Linked DNA regions of Homo sapiens: region 2 is linked to region 1. Evidence: promoter capture Hi-C in 16 types of primary human blood cells and fetal thymus (Javierre and others, 2016). All regions are on one chromosome and are shown on one strand. Each heading gives the region's core, a stretch centred on a gene start or on the middle of the fragment in contact. The rest is flanking DNA. Distances are from core to core; before and after follow the strand shown.

Evidence for each region. The method cuts DNA at HindIII sites, captures the fragments that hold promoters and counts their contacts. A CHiCAGO score of 5 or more calls a contact.
Region 2: a fragment that was not itself captured here is called in contact with the fragment with the promoter of MAGEA1 in region 1 in 1 of 17 cell types (activated CD4 T cells); the score reaches 5.9 in activated CD4 T cells.

Annotation. Positions count from the first base shown.
Region 1 is chrX:153,174,673-153,181,369 of GRCh38, reverse strand. MAGEA1 (MAGE family member A1) reads right to left here and starts at 2,086. Exons shown (of 3, transcript NM_004988.5): 1 at 2,005-2,086. The HindIII fragment of the contact is 9,739 bases long and covers 1-5,315 here.
Region 2 is chrX:153,000,079-153,006,775 of GRCh38, reverse strand. No RefSeq gene overlaps it. Among named protein-coding and RNA genes, the nearest start is that of PNMA5, 9.3 kb to the right of the region's middle. The HindIII fragment of the contact is 2,358 bases long and covers 1,627-3,984 here.

The DNA.
Region 1 (6,697 bases), core at 837-3,336:
CCTCATGTTCCTCACCCGAACGCATGGCAGATCCTGGGACCGCTCTGTCTTTAGACCAGATGGGGGTCCCTACGTTGACCTGAGTCACCCTCTGAGAATGAGGTCCTCACCTGCCCCAGATCTGGAAACAGGAGTGAAAAGAAGCCACATCCTGGGTGAGGTGTCCAGGGCTGACCCCTTTGGTTCTGGGGTGAGGATTCCAATAGCCTTGTCTGTCTCACTCATCTTTATTCCTGCCAGCGCCTGTGCTTCCTCAACCCCCAATTCCCTGACATGAGTAGACATCCCCCCTTTACCCCAAGACCCCATCTCCCTGAGGGCCCCCCAACTTCCTGCCTGTGGTACAAGTGAGAATGGAACATACCGCCATCCCTGATCTGGTCCCCCTAGAGCTACTAAAAGGGGACAGCCAGACTGTGTGGAGTCCCTTCTTTCTGAGCCGGGGATATCCCCAGTCCTCATGAAGGGGGCACATCTTGGGCCATATGGATCCTGGAACTCCTCCCTCTGTTGACCTGAGGCCCCACTTCTCAGACCACAGCTCTGTCCTGTCACCTCAAAGATGCAGGAAATATGGGCCATATGTGGCCACCGTGCCCTGGACCTCTCAGGGCCGAGGTCCACACTGATCTGGATTCCAAGGTCCCCTGAGTCCTCCCTCCTCTTCCTCCGCGTAAGCCTTGCAGGCCTGGGTCCCACCCCCATGCTAATCTGAGTCCCCATCATTCTGATTCTTGAGGCCAGAAGTGGCAGCCTCAGTCTCAGACAGGGGTGCGGTGTCCTAGGGTGCTGGGTCCTCTGAGGCCTCCCTCATCTCGCAGTAGGGCCCTCCCTCTGCTCCCCTGAGGCCCTGTTCAAGCCCCTTCCCTCCATCAGCCCTGGATGGGGACGTCAAGATCCGAGTGCCTGGCCGCCATTCCCGTGGCTTCCGTGGGTTGACAGCAGGGATTCTGACAAGATGAGGTTGGGGGTAGGGGGTAGGTATGGGAATGTGAGTGGGGTGGCGGTGGAGATGAGGAGACAGGTGTGGGTGGGGAACCCTCAGTTCCCTCCCAGGGTCCTGACCCTAATGCCGGGCGGATGCCTGGACCTTGATGCCTGGGCCCTGCCCTCTCCTGACCAACCCTGCCCCGGTCACATAAGCTATGACTACAGATTGCCCTGTGGGTTAAGTGGCAGTGGGACGGGACGGGGGGTGGTCCAGCTGAGACATCTGTCCTGGCCGGGTGGTCCAGGGCTGGCAGCAGGGGTGGTACTGGATCATTTTGGGGCCATCTACCTGGGGTGTGTGCCTCCTCAGTCCTCCCTCAGCATCTCACCTTGCCTCCTCACAGAGCCTAAAACCACTCCCCTCAGTGGATCTCAAGCCGCCCCTCAGAACCATTAAATGAACCTGGCTTCTCTCAGATCTGTGAGGTTCAAGTCAGTGGTTTCACATCGGGCCATCCAGGGCTTCCCTGGGTTGAGAGCAGGGGCAAACCGGATTCTGCCAGAATGGGGGAGGCGATGGGAGTGGGGCACATGAGAGAGATGAGGGTGGGGTTGGGGGCAGTGAGGGTGAGGTGGCAGAAGGGTTGGGGCTGGTGCTGGGGCTGGAGGGTGGTGGTCAGGTGACGGAGTAGGAGTAGGGATGGGGGTGGAGGTGTAGCTGAGGAGATGGGGGTTGGGTGGGGAATGGGAATGCGAATGGGGTGGGAGTGGGGATTGGAGTGCAGTCTTGGGGGCCCACAGCCCTCCCTCTTGGGTGCTGATCTTGATGCCTGGCAGAGCCTGTGCCCTGCCCTCTCCTAACCAGTCCTGCCCTGGTCACAGCAACCTCTGATTCCAGAGCTTGGGGAGAAGAACCTGGTGTCTCTCAAGGCTTTTGGAGCAGGGGTCTGGGGGCAGCCCAGGCTGAGACGTCTTCCCGCGGGTGGGCCAGGGCTGGCAGCAAGGGCGGCGCTGGAATATTTGGGGCTCTCTATTTGGAGTGGCGGGGTCCTCAGTCCTCCCTCAGCCTCTCACCTTGCCTCCTCACAGAGCCTGGGTCAGGTTCCTTCGGCCGAACTCTACGCCGTCCCTCAGAATGGAAACCTCGCTTCTCTCTGCCCCACAATGCGCAAGTCAGTGGCGTCACATCCGGGCACCCGGATGTTTCCTGGCGGGAACCGGATCCTGCCTGGGTGGGGGTGGGAGTGGGCGTGGGGGTGGGGGTGGGGGTGAGGGTGGAATGGCTGGGCGGATGGGCATCAGGGTTGAGGGATGGGGTGGGGGATGTGGGGTGGGGGTTGGAATGACAATGAAGAGGGGGTTGGGTCACGGGAGTGAGCATTGGAGTGGGGGTTGGGTCACGGGAGTGGGGTCTTAGGGACCCTCAGCCCTCCTTGAGAATCCTGAGCATGATGTCTGGCAGAGCCTGGACGCTGCCCTCTCCTAAGCAGCCCTTCCCTGATCACACGAGCTCTGACTTCAGAGTCCCCAGTGGTTTAAGCAGCAAGGGGGCTGGGGGTGGCCCAGCCTGAGAAGTCCACCACCAGATGGTCCAGGACTGGCATGAAGGGATTATTTGGGGTCCTCTATCTGGGGTAAGTGGGTCCTCAGTCCTCCCTCAGCATGTCACCTTGCCTCCTTACAGAGCCTGGGCCCGCTTCCCTCCACCGATCTCAAGCCGCCCCTCAGACCGAAAACCTCGCTTCTCTCTAACCACTAATGCTCAAGTCAGTGGCGTCACATCTGGGCACCTGGGCTTCCCTGGGTTGAGAGCAGGGGTGGAACCGGATTCTGCCTGGCTTGGGCTGGGGGTGAGCGTGAAGATGTTTGGATGGGTGGCGTAAAGGGAGGGATTGGGGGTGGTAGGGGGAGGGATGCCAGTGGTGCCCCGGGGCTTAAGTCGTCGTGTTGGTGGTAGTGGGGTTGGGCGTGGGGTTGGGGGACCCTCGGTCACCCCTCAGGGTCCTGACTTTCATGCCTGGCAGAATCTGGACACCCATATTCTCTGCCGATTGTGTCTGCTTCTCTCCCACCAAGTCTCTGGCCCCCAGTCCCATGAGGTGGCAATGGGAGGGGGGGTGTGGTCGTGGTAACATTGCCAGGGTCTTCCAGGGCTGACAGGAGGGGCTGAGCTGCATTCTGTGGCCCATCTACGTCGGGAGAGTGGACCCTCTGTCCCCACTCAGGAAGGTCCTCCTCCCGGCTCCTGGCACTTTGTTGAAGTCATGGGCGGGAGATGCTGTTTCTGCCATCTCTGAGCATTTGCCCAGCTGCACCCATTGCAGAGAATGGCTGCAGGTCCCAGGCCAGGTGCTCCCTGCAGAGTGGCAGCTCCCGCGATTGTAGTGACCTCTGGGAGAAGACGCACACCTTCCCACGGGGGCTTCTCTCCAGCCAGAGCTACACTTGGCAAACCTTTTGTCCTCAAAGTAATATGTTTTACTCCCAGGCACGGTGGTTCACGCCTGTAATCCCAACAGTTTGAGAGGCCGAGGCGGGCAGATCACTTGAGGTCAGGGGTTCAAGACCAGCCTGGCCAACATGGTGAAACCCCGTCTCTACACAAAATACAAAAATTAGCTGGGTGTGGTAGTGCTCAGGAGGCTGAGGCGTGAGAATCGCTTGCACCTGGAGGCGGAGTTTGCAGTGAGGCGAGATCGTGCCATTGAACTCTAGCGTGGGCCTCGCGACAGAGTGACACTCTGTCTCAAAAAATTTAAAAAATGAAAAAGAAATACACTTTTCGTATCTTCCAAGGATATATGTAGGTAGCTGTATATATATATGTATTTATTTCTAGGAAAGAATACCTACCAGTAGTATGCATGATTCACTCTTATATCCTATTCTACTTCTTTTCCATTCTTTACGTTCTGTTGAAATAATTTTTTTTGAAACACAATTTCTCACCCACTATGTTGGTGTCTGGTTGTTATTAGTGGAACTCTTGATCCATACTGTCTTAACCAGCCCTGTTTAACTGGTGTCCTGCTGTTGCCCTAGGGCTACTAGCATCATGTTTTGAGGAGCTGCCTCAGACTGTGTAATGATGTGAAGTGGAAATTTGAAAACTTTCATTGTAACCATTTTGTCAACTGCAGTCTAGGCAGGGTACAGACCTCCCCAGTATCCCTGCTGCCACCCCCCCTCCAACCGAGACTGCAAGTGTCAAACACAATTACCAGTTCAACCATCTTCAGCATCACCCAGGGCTTTCTCTATTTTGTTGCTTAGACTTTGTTGCTGATATTGTGTCTTTCTCCTTCTTTTTCCCTTCTATAATTTTCCAGGGTTGATTTGTGAAGCAGAGAACAGCAGCCCAAATTTGATTGTCACGTTGGCAGCCACAGGTAAGACATAATTTGTACATAATTGTACATAATTGAAGCACATTTGACATTTTTACAGTGTTCTCTTTCTCATCAATGAATATGCTATGCTCCTCTATAATATGTGTGTGTGAGTGTGTGTATATATATATATATATATATAGAGAGAGAGAGAGAGAGAGAGAAAGATGGCATCTCCCTCTGTCTACCAGGCTGGAGTGCAGTGGCACTATCTCGGCTCACTGTAATCTCCACCTCCCAAGTTCAAGTGATTCTCCTACCTTAGCCTACTGAGTAGCTGGGATTACAGGTGCATGGCACCATACCCAGCTAATTTTTGTATTTTTAGTAGAGATGGGGTTTCAACATATTGGCCAGGTGTGTCTGGAACTCCTGACCTCAGGTGATCTGCCCGCCTCAGCCTCCCAAAATACTGGGATTACAGGCATGAGCCATCGCACCCAGCCTCATGTATTAATTTCAAACTCCTTTTACTTGAATCTGTCAGTATACTGTGATTGTTGCCTCTATAAAGACCTTCTGCATTTTTACTAGGCTTCTTTTCAGGTAATTCTTGGATTTTGATGCTATTGAAAAAGGCATATTGTATATTAAGTGTTCTAGTTACTGATTGCTTTCATCTGGCAAAGATTTTGATTTTGCTATTATAATCTGTTGTATACCTCATTCTGAAGGCCCATTCACTTGAATCTTCCACATGCCTACTCCTTTGAATTTTCAAGACTGATCATGTTATCACTAAACATTATATATTTTTTCCACTATTCATACTCCTTATTTATGTTGATATTTATAGCTCTGACTTTGTGTCTCAATACTGATTTAAAAGCTGGAGATAATACCTTACATCTAATTATTTTTCCTCTCTTTAATAATAAGTCCTCGAACATTTAGCATTTATGTATGTTTGCTGTTGATTTTAGTAAATGGAAATTCTCTTTCAAAAGAAGTTAACTAAATATGTTTACTTTGAACTCATATTGAATTTCCTTCAAAAGCTTTTCCTATACCCAGTGATATGAGCACTTATCTTTTTCTTCTCCATTTTGTATGTAAGGAATTACAATGAAATACGTTTCTTTTTTGTAACAATAAATCATATTTTCTTTCCTTGGGCAGAGCCTGTTTGTTCATTTAATATGCTACTAACTTATGTAGGATATGTGGTGTTATGTATGAGAGCTTCCTTGATGTGTTTTTGTCCATGGGTGGGGGTGGTCCTCATCTGGTTTTTGTATCCAAGAGGGCAAGTCTGGGAGAAGGAATTGAACGATAGTCTATATTTTGTATGCCTTGGAAGAGTTGAGGTAAGATGGTAGTTAGTTTTTCCTGATCATTTTGTTCAATCGGCCTCCAAGACTGCCTAGACTGGAACATTTGAGGGTGGCTTGAGCTATGAATATTGTACCATTTCTGTTTGTATAGTTTAAGTTTTCTTTTCCTTTTTGGACCAATTTGGAAATGTATTTATTTTATTTCTGCAAAGTGTTCAGTTTCACATAGGATTTCACTTTAAACGGTGTGAAATTTGCGATAAAAACTTTTTCTTAGGGAGCGCCTCAAAAACCTTGAATAATAGAATAACATAATGAAACCAGAACACCTGTCACTCAGCATCAACAACCTTCAATACATGTCATATCTGGTTCCAGTTTGAGGCTCACCTACTTGTATCTCAGCTGCTGGAATAATGTGGAGCAAATCTAAGACATCATTCCATTTCATCTCTAAATACTTCAATATGTTTTTCTAAAAGTTAAGAACTTTATGTTAACTAAAATCCCAATACAGTTTTCATTTCTAAAAAAATTAAATAAATGGTTATCAGATGTTTAACTGATTTACACACTTATCTGGCAGACTTACACTTTGTAAAAGTATGTTTATTTGAATGAGAGCCCAAACACGGTATTATACAGTGATTTTTTTTGTCGTTATAACCCTTAACTCTTTCGTCATCTGTAGGTCCCCTCCACTGGACCTCTTTCCCTGCCATTGTTTTGTTGTTTTTGGAAAGAAACAGATCTTGCGCTCTCTGCAGTTTTCCATAGTCTGGGTTTTGCTGAATGCAACACTGTGATGTCCTTTATCATATTCTTCAGCCCTTCATTTCTAGGGCTACAAGATGCTCCTGGTTCATCTTGTTTATGCCCTGCCCCAGTGCTAAACTAAGCTATTTCTCCAGAGGTCTGGTTCGCTTCATTGGGAAATGGTTCTAGGTGGGAATCGACATCTGGGTTCTAGGTGTGCTCGTTGCTACAGAGTAGTTTTTAGTCATAGGCTTCTCTGCTGAGAACAATGAAATATATGTTTGTATATACCACGTATATACACATCTGTTGAATTTATATATGTAAACATTTGCCTATATATTAAAT
Region 2 (6,697 bases), core at 1,556-4,055, 180 kb after region 1:
AAAAACCCTCATAATTGTCTTTTGGTGGATGGCATAGCTATGGCTACTGCTCCCCAGCAGTTGGGGAGTAAATTCCTCTGTCCTTTAGTTAAGTCAAATCCTAGATACCTTTCCAAGGGTTGAGAAGTTTGTACTTTCTTTTGGGATACCTTGTACCTTCACTCAGCCAGGAAATTTAAGATGGTTATGTTATTTTCATCTGAACTTTACTTTATTTGCTATCAATGTGCCATCTACATATTGGAAGATAGCCCCCTCTTGTAACTGGAGTTCCCCAAAAAAGATGAGGGAGTTTTTGAATCCTTGTGGCAACAGTCCAGCAACATTGGTGCTTGCTCTTTGTTTCTGGATCTTCCCATTCCAAAGCAAAGAGTTCTTGAGATTCAAGACTTGGGGAATGGAGGAAAAATGCATCTTTTAAGTCTAATACTGTGAACTAACAGAAGTCTCCTGACAAGATAGTCAGCAAGGTGTAAGGGTTTGTAACAACTAGGTAACCTCCTCTACTATTTAGCTTTTTAATAGGTAAGATGGGAGTATTGTATGGAGAGCTACATGGCCTGATGAGCTGGAACTCTGGAAAGGCAATGATTAAAGGCCAAATCCCCCTTTTAATCTGTTCCTTTAGGGGATATAGTTTTGAGTTTGGAGTTTTTGCTTCTGGTTTTAGCTTCATCTATACTGGTATAGCAGGGATATAGTTTGGATGTCCCCTACAAATCTCATGTTGAGATGTAATCCCCAGTGTTGGAGGTGGGGCCTGGTGGGAGGTGTTTGGGTCATGGGGTGGAATCCTCATGGCTTGGTGCTGTTTTGTGATAGTGAGTAAGTTCTCACAAGACCTGGATGTTTAGAAGTGTGTGGCACCTTCCCTGCTCTCTCTCTCTCTTGCTCCTGCTCTCACCTGCTTCCACTTTAGCTTCAAACATGAATTAAAGCTGCCTGAGGCCTCCCCAGAAGCCAAGTGGATGCTGACACCATGCTTCCTGTACAGCATGCAGAACTGTGAGCCAATTAAACCTATTTTCTTTATAAATTACCCAGTGTCCAGTATTTCTTTGTAGCAACACAACAATGGTCTAACACAGAAAATTGGTACTGAGGAGTTGGGCATTGCTATAGATATCTGAAAATGTGGAAGCAGCTTTGGAGCTGGGTAACAGGCAGAGGTTGGAAGGGTTTGGAGGTCTCAGAAGAAGACAGGAAAAAAGTTCCAAGAAATCTTGGAAATTCTTAGGGACTGGCTAGATGGTGGTAACAAAAATACTGATAGTGATATGGATAGTGAAGTCCAGGCTGACAAAGTCTCAAATGGAAATGAGGAACTTTTTGGTAACTGAAGCAAAGGTCATCCTTGTAATGCCTTAGCAAAGAACTTGGCTGTATTCTGTCATGCCCTAGGGATCTGTGGAAGTTTGAACTTAAGAGTGACAACCTAGGGTATCTGACAGAGAAAATTCTTACGCATCAAAGTGTTCAAGAGGTGGTCTAACTGCTTGTAACAGCCTATGCGCAGATGCAGGAACAAAGAAATAACTTAAAGTTGGGAATTATATTTATAGAAGAAGCAGAGCATAAAGTTTGGAAAATTTGCAGCCTAGCCATCTGGCAAAGAAAGAAAAAGCTTTTTCAGGGGAAGAATCCAAGAAGGCTGTGGTGTAACCACTTTCTAGAGATATTAGCCTGATTAAAAGCAAACAATGTCCTGATAGCCAAGACAATGGGGGAAAGACCTTGAAGGCATTTCGGAGATCTCTGAGGCAGCCCCTCCCATCACAGGCCAAAAGGCTTAGGAGGGAAGAATGGTTTCAAGGGTCAGGCCTGGGATGCCACTGCCCTGCTCAGCCTTGTGACACTGCTCCTTGCATCCCAGCTGCTCTGGCTCTAGCTCCAGCTCAAATGGGCCCAAGTACAGTTTGGGCCTCCACTCCAGAGGGCACAAGCCATAAGCCTTGGCAGTTTCAACATGGTGTTAAGCCTGCAGGTGTACAGAGTATAAGGGTGAAGAAGGCTTGACAGCCTCCGCTTAGATTTCAGAAGATGCATGGAAAAGCCTGGGTCTCCAGCCAGACACTTCCTGCAGGGGTGGAGCCCTCACAGAGAACCTCCACTAGGGCAGTGCAGGGGGAAAATGTAGGGTTTAAGCACCGCCCACAGAGTCTCCAATGGGGCACTGGGTAGTGGAGCTGTGGGAAGAGTTCACTGTCCTCCAAATGCCAGAATGGTAGATCCACTAGCAGCTTGCACTCTGCACCAGGAAAAGTTACAGGTACTCAATGCCAGCTTGTGAGAGCAGGCTCAGAAGCTGAGCCCTGCAAAGCCACAGGGTCAGAGCTGCCCAAGGCCCTGGGAGCCCATCCCCTGCAGAAGCATGCCCTGGATGTGAGACATGGAGTCAAAGGAGACTGTTTTGAAGTTTTAAGATTCAATGACTGCCCTGCTGAGTTTCAGACTTGGGTGGCGCCTGTAGCACCTTTCTTTTGGAATGAGAATGTTTACCCAGTGCTTGTATCTCCATTGTATCTTGGAAGTAAATAACCCATTTTGATTTTACAGGCTTCTAGGTGGAAAGAACTTATTTCCAGATAAGACTTTGGACTGGGGACTTGGGACTTTTGAGTTGTGCAACCGCCCAAGGGGTTCACCTTGCCTGCTGCCTAGACACAGCTTATTTATCAAGACAGGGGAATTGCAATGGAGAAAGTAATTCACACAGAGCCAGCTATGCAGGAGACTAAAGTTTTATTATTACTCAAATAAGTCTCCCCGACTATTCGGGGATCAGAGTTTTTAAAGATAATTTGGTGGGTAGGGGCTTGAGAAGTGGGAAGTGCTGATTGGTCAGGATGGACATGGAATCATGGAGAGTTGAAGTGAGTTTTTCTTGCTGTTTTCTATTCCTGGATGGGATGGAAGAACTGATTGAGCCAGATTACTGGTCTAGGTGGTGTCAGCTGATCCATCAAGCGCAGGGGCTGCAAAATACCTCAAGCACTGATCTTAGGTTTTACAGCATTGATGTTATCCTCAGGAGCAATTTGGGGAGGTTCAGACTCTAGTAGCCAGAGGCTACCTGTCCCCTAAAATGTAATTTCTAATCTTCTATCTAATTTGTTAGTCCTGCAAAGGCATACTTGTCCCCAGGCAAGAATGGGGTCTTTTTGGAAAATGTCTGTTATCAATTTTGTTTCAGAGTCAAACCATAAATTGAATTCCTTCCCAAAGTTAGTTTGGCCTATGCCCAGTAATGAACAAGGACAAAGGTTAGAAGCAATATGGGGTTGGTTAGGTCTGATTTCTTTCACTGTCATAATTTCTTCAGTTATAATTTTGCAAAGGCAGTTTCATTAATGCTGGAATGTGTTAAGACTTTGGAGGACTATTGGGATGAGATTATTGTATTTCACAGTATGAGAAGGACATGAGATTTGTGGGGGCAGGGGAGAATGACATAGTTTGGACATGCCCTCCAAATCTCATGTTGAGATACAATCCCCAATGTTGAAGGTTGGGCCTGATGGGAAAGGTTTGGATCATGGGGGTGGATCTCTCATGGCTTGGTGCTGTCCTCATGATAGTGAGTTCTCACAAGATCTGGTTGTTTAAAATTGTGTGGCACCCTCTCTCCTCCATCTCTCTCTTGCTCCTGCTTTTGCCATATGATGTGCCTGCTCCTGCTTTGCCTTCCATCATGAGTAAAAGCTCCCTGAGGCCTCCCCAGAAGCTGAGCAAATGCCAGCACTATGCTTCCTGTACAACCTGCAGAACACTGAGCCCATTAAAGCTCATTTCTTTATAAATACCTAGTCTCAGGTATTTCTTTATAGCAATGCAAGAATGGCCTTAACACAAGCAGTCTTAGCCCTTCCCAGCCTCCCATCAGCCCAAGCATCTGGGCTTATCTGCTTTAAGATGTTCTCCATAATATTGATGGTGTGTTTTTCTGCTCTGTGGTCATAAAGGGCATTTGGGAGTGCACAAGCTTGTTCTGGTGGCACCTCAATTTTCCCAAAGCAAAGGTTACTGTGGCAATTAACTTAGTTAACAAGTCCTGTCCCAGTGAAGGGATTGGGCATTCTGGCATGTACAAGAAACTATGCTTTAGTTTGACTGTGCCCACTTGGTAGTCCATAGGTTGTAAAAAGGACTTTTTCATAAGTGTTCCAGACACCCCATGATAGTCATAGTATTGGGTGACAATTTTGTTATTTTGATATTTAGGACTGTATTAGTCTGTTTTCATGCTGCTGATGAAGACATACCCAAGACTGGGCAATTTACAAAAGAAAGAGGTTTAATGGATTTACTATTGCACATGGCTGGGGAAGCCTCACAATCATGGCAGAAGGCAAAGAGGAGCAAGTCACGTCTTACATGGATGGCAGCAGGCAAAGAGATGGCAGCAGGCAAAGAGAGAGAGAGCTTGTGCAGGGAAAACCCCATGATTCAATTATTTCCCACCAGGTCCTTCCCACAACACATGGGAAATATGGGAGCTACAAGATGAGATTTAGGTGGGGACACAGAGCCAAACCATGTCAAGGAAGGAGTACGTGGCTCCAATATCAATCAAGAAATCAACTTGTCTTTTTCCCACCAAAGAGTTACCCAGGGTTCCAGGCAGGAGATGGGGATGCAGCCTCATCCACCTATTGTACCCCCTGAGACCCCATCACTCTCTTGGATACCTCTGACAAAAGTAAAGCCTTTTCTTCTTTCCCCTGGGATTGCCTTTTTAAACTCAGGAAGTCCTTTTCCAATGGTCCTCTTGTTTACAATATGCACAATGCTTGGGCCCCATCTATGGATCGCCTTTCTGGAGGCCTTTCTTGTTTCCAGGGGTGTCTACCTTCTCATTGGGCTTCTTTACTTCAAGTGCTGTGAACAGAGCAGCAACCAACAAAGATGCCTGTTTTTCCATCCTCTGTTGCTCTTTATGATCCAATGCTTGATCTCAGTTTTTGAACACCTTAAAAGCAATCTATACAGTTAAGAGATAGACATTCCAAAAACACTTTCTAATTTTTATAGCTTTTTCTGAATGCCAGGAGTGCTTTGACTAATAAAAGTTATGTTAATTAATCTGAGGTTCTCAGGGGCCTCAGGATCTATCTCAGTTGACATTGCCAGGAGGCTTCAAAAATTATCTCCAAAAACTTTCAGATGAGTTTTCATTTGGCCTCTGTCACATTTCCTGAAATTTATTAAAGCTACACTACTTTGAGACCCCTTTCCTCAGGACTGCTAAAATTCAATCTCTTTAATGCTTGCAATGAGCTTGACTCTCATGATTTGGATCCTATCAGGATCTTGCACATGCCAGAATGCCCAGTCCCTTCGTTGGGACAGGACGTGTTAACTAAGTTAATTGCCACAGTAACCTTTGCTCTGGGAAAATTGGACATTGAGGTGCCACCAGAACAAGCATGTGAGCTCCAAGATGCCCTTTTTGACCACGGAGCAGGAAAACACACCACCAATATTATTGAGAACATCTTAAAGCCCAGACACTTGGGCCAATGGGAGGCTGGGAGGAGCTAAGACTGCTTGTGTTAGGCTATAGCCTCAGCAGTAGCTGCCCAGACCAGATTGCTGGCAGTCTCAGTATGTTACTGGTCAGCTTCTTCTCTAGCTTTTTCTAAAACTATTCTCCACTCTTTGGAGGTAAGTAGTGCATTTTGTAAATATTGCACATTCTCCCAGTTAGGATTATGAGTAGTGTAAATGGAGAACACATTTTCCATCCTCCTTGGGTCACCCCAGTAGGTAAGCATGTTATCCTTCCAATGGTATAGGTCAGAGACTGAGAATGGCACGTGTACCCACACAGGTCCCGCTGGCTGACCCTGGGCATTGATTCTGCCAATGGGTACTTGCCTAATGGAATTGCCCTACCTCAACCAGAGTGGCTCCCTGACGATATTGAGTGCCCTGTCAGGTGTGTGAAGGAGAGAGCACTCCTGGCCTGTTTACGTCACTATTATTCCCCAGTCCAGCCAGGGTAATAGGGGCTCCCATTCCTGCCTGAGCAGGGGGGCGGGGCCATTGCTCTGGCTTCCATATCTCGCCCCCCATAAGGTGGAGAGATAGGATTGGTGCATTCATTTGTTGAAGTAGTAAGTCATCTTCTGATTTTTGAGAACCGGGTAAAACCTTTACCTCTTTCACCTTAGAGGCATTTCTTTCAACCATGATTCTATGCAAATTATACCTTCTTTGAATTAGCTCACTTTGGTACAAAAGCATAAAAGCTTGTACATTCAGAATTTCATCCCATTTACCTTCTTGTTCACAAAACAATTCTAATTGAAAAATTATAATGTAATTTAGATATCTAAATTCTGGCTACCATTCCCTGGATCCTAGGGGATACCGTGGTCAGGCAGAATTTCAACATTAAAAACATTTTTCTTTTTCATGGGCTCAAAGCTAAAAATGGCCCGATTCTGCAGAATGCACCATAATGGGCTACAAGGAGGAACATAATTTGTAGTTTCCATTTTAGATGACAAGACCTTAGGTGAAAAACCCTTAATGCCTCAGCTGGGCTTTAGGCAGATTGTCAAGCAAGCAAATCAAAATCAAAATGTGATTTCTCAAAGTCTCCATCCCTTCAGTTGCTTATGGAGTATTCCCTACTAAACACACTATGATGAAGCAGAGTCCCGTAAATTGCCAAAGCAAGGCCAGATGTCCT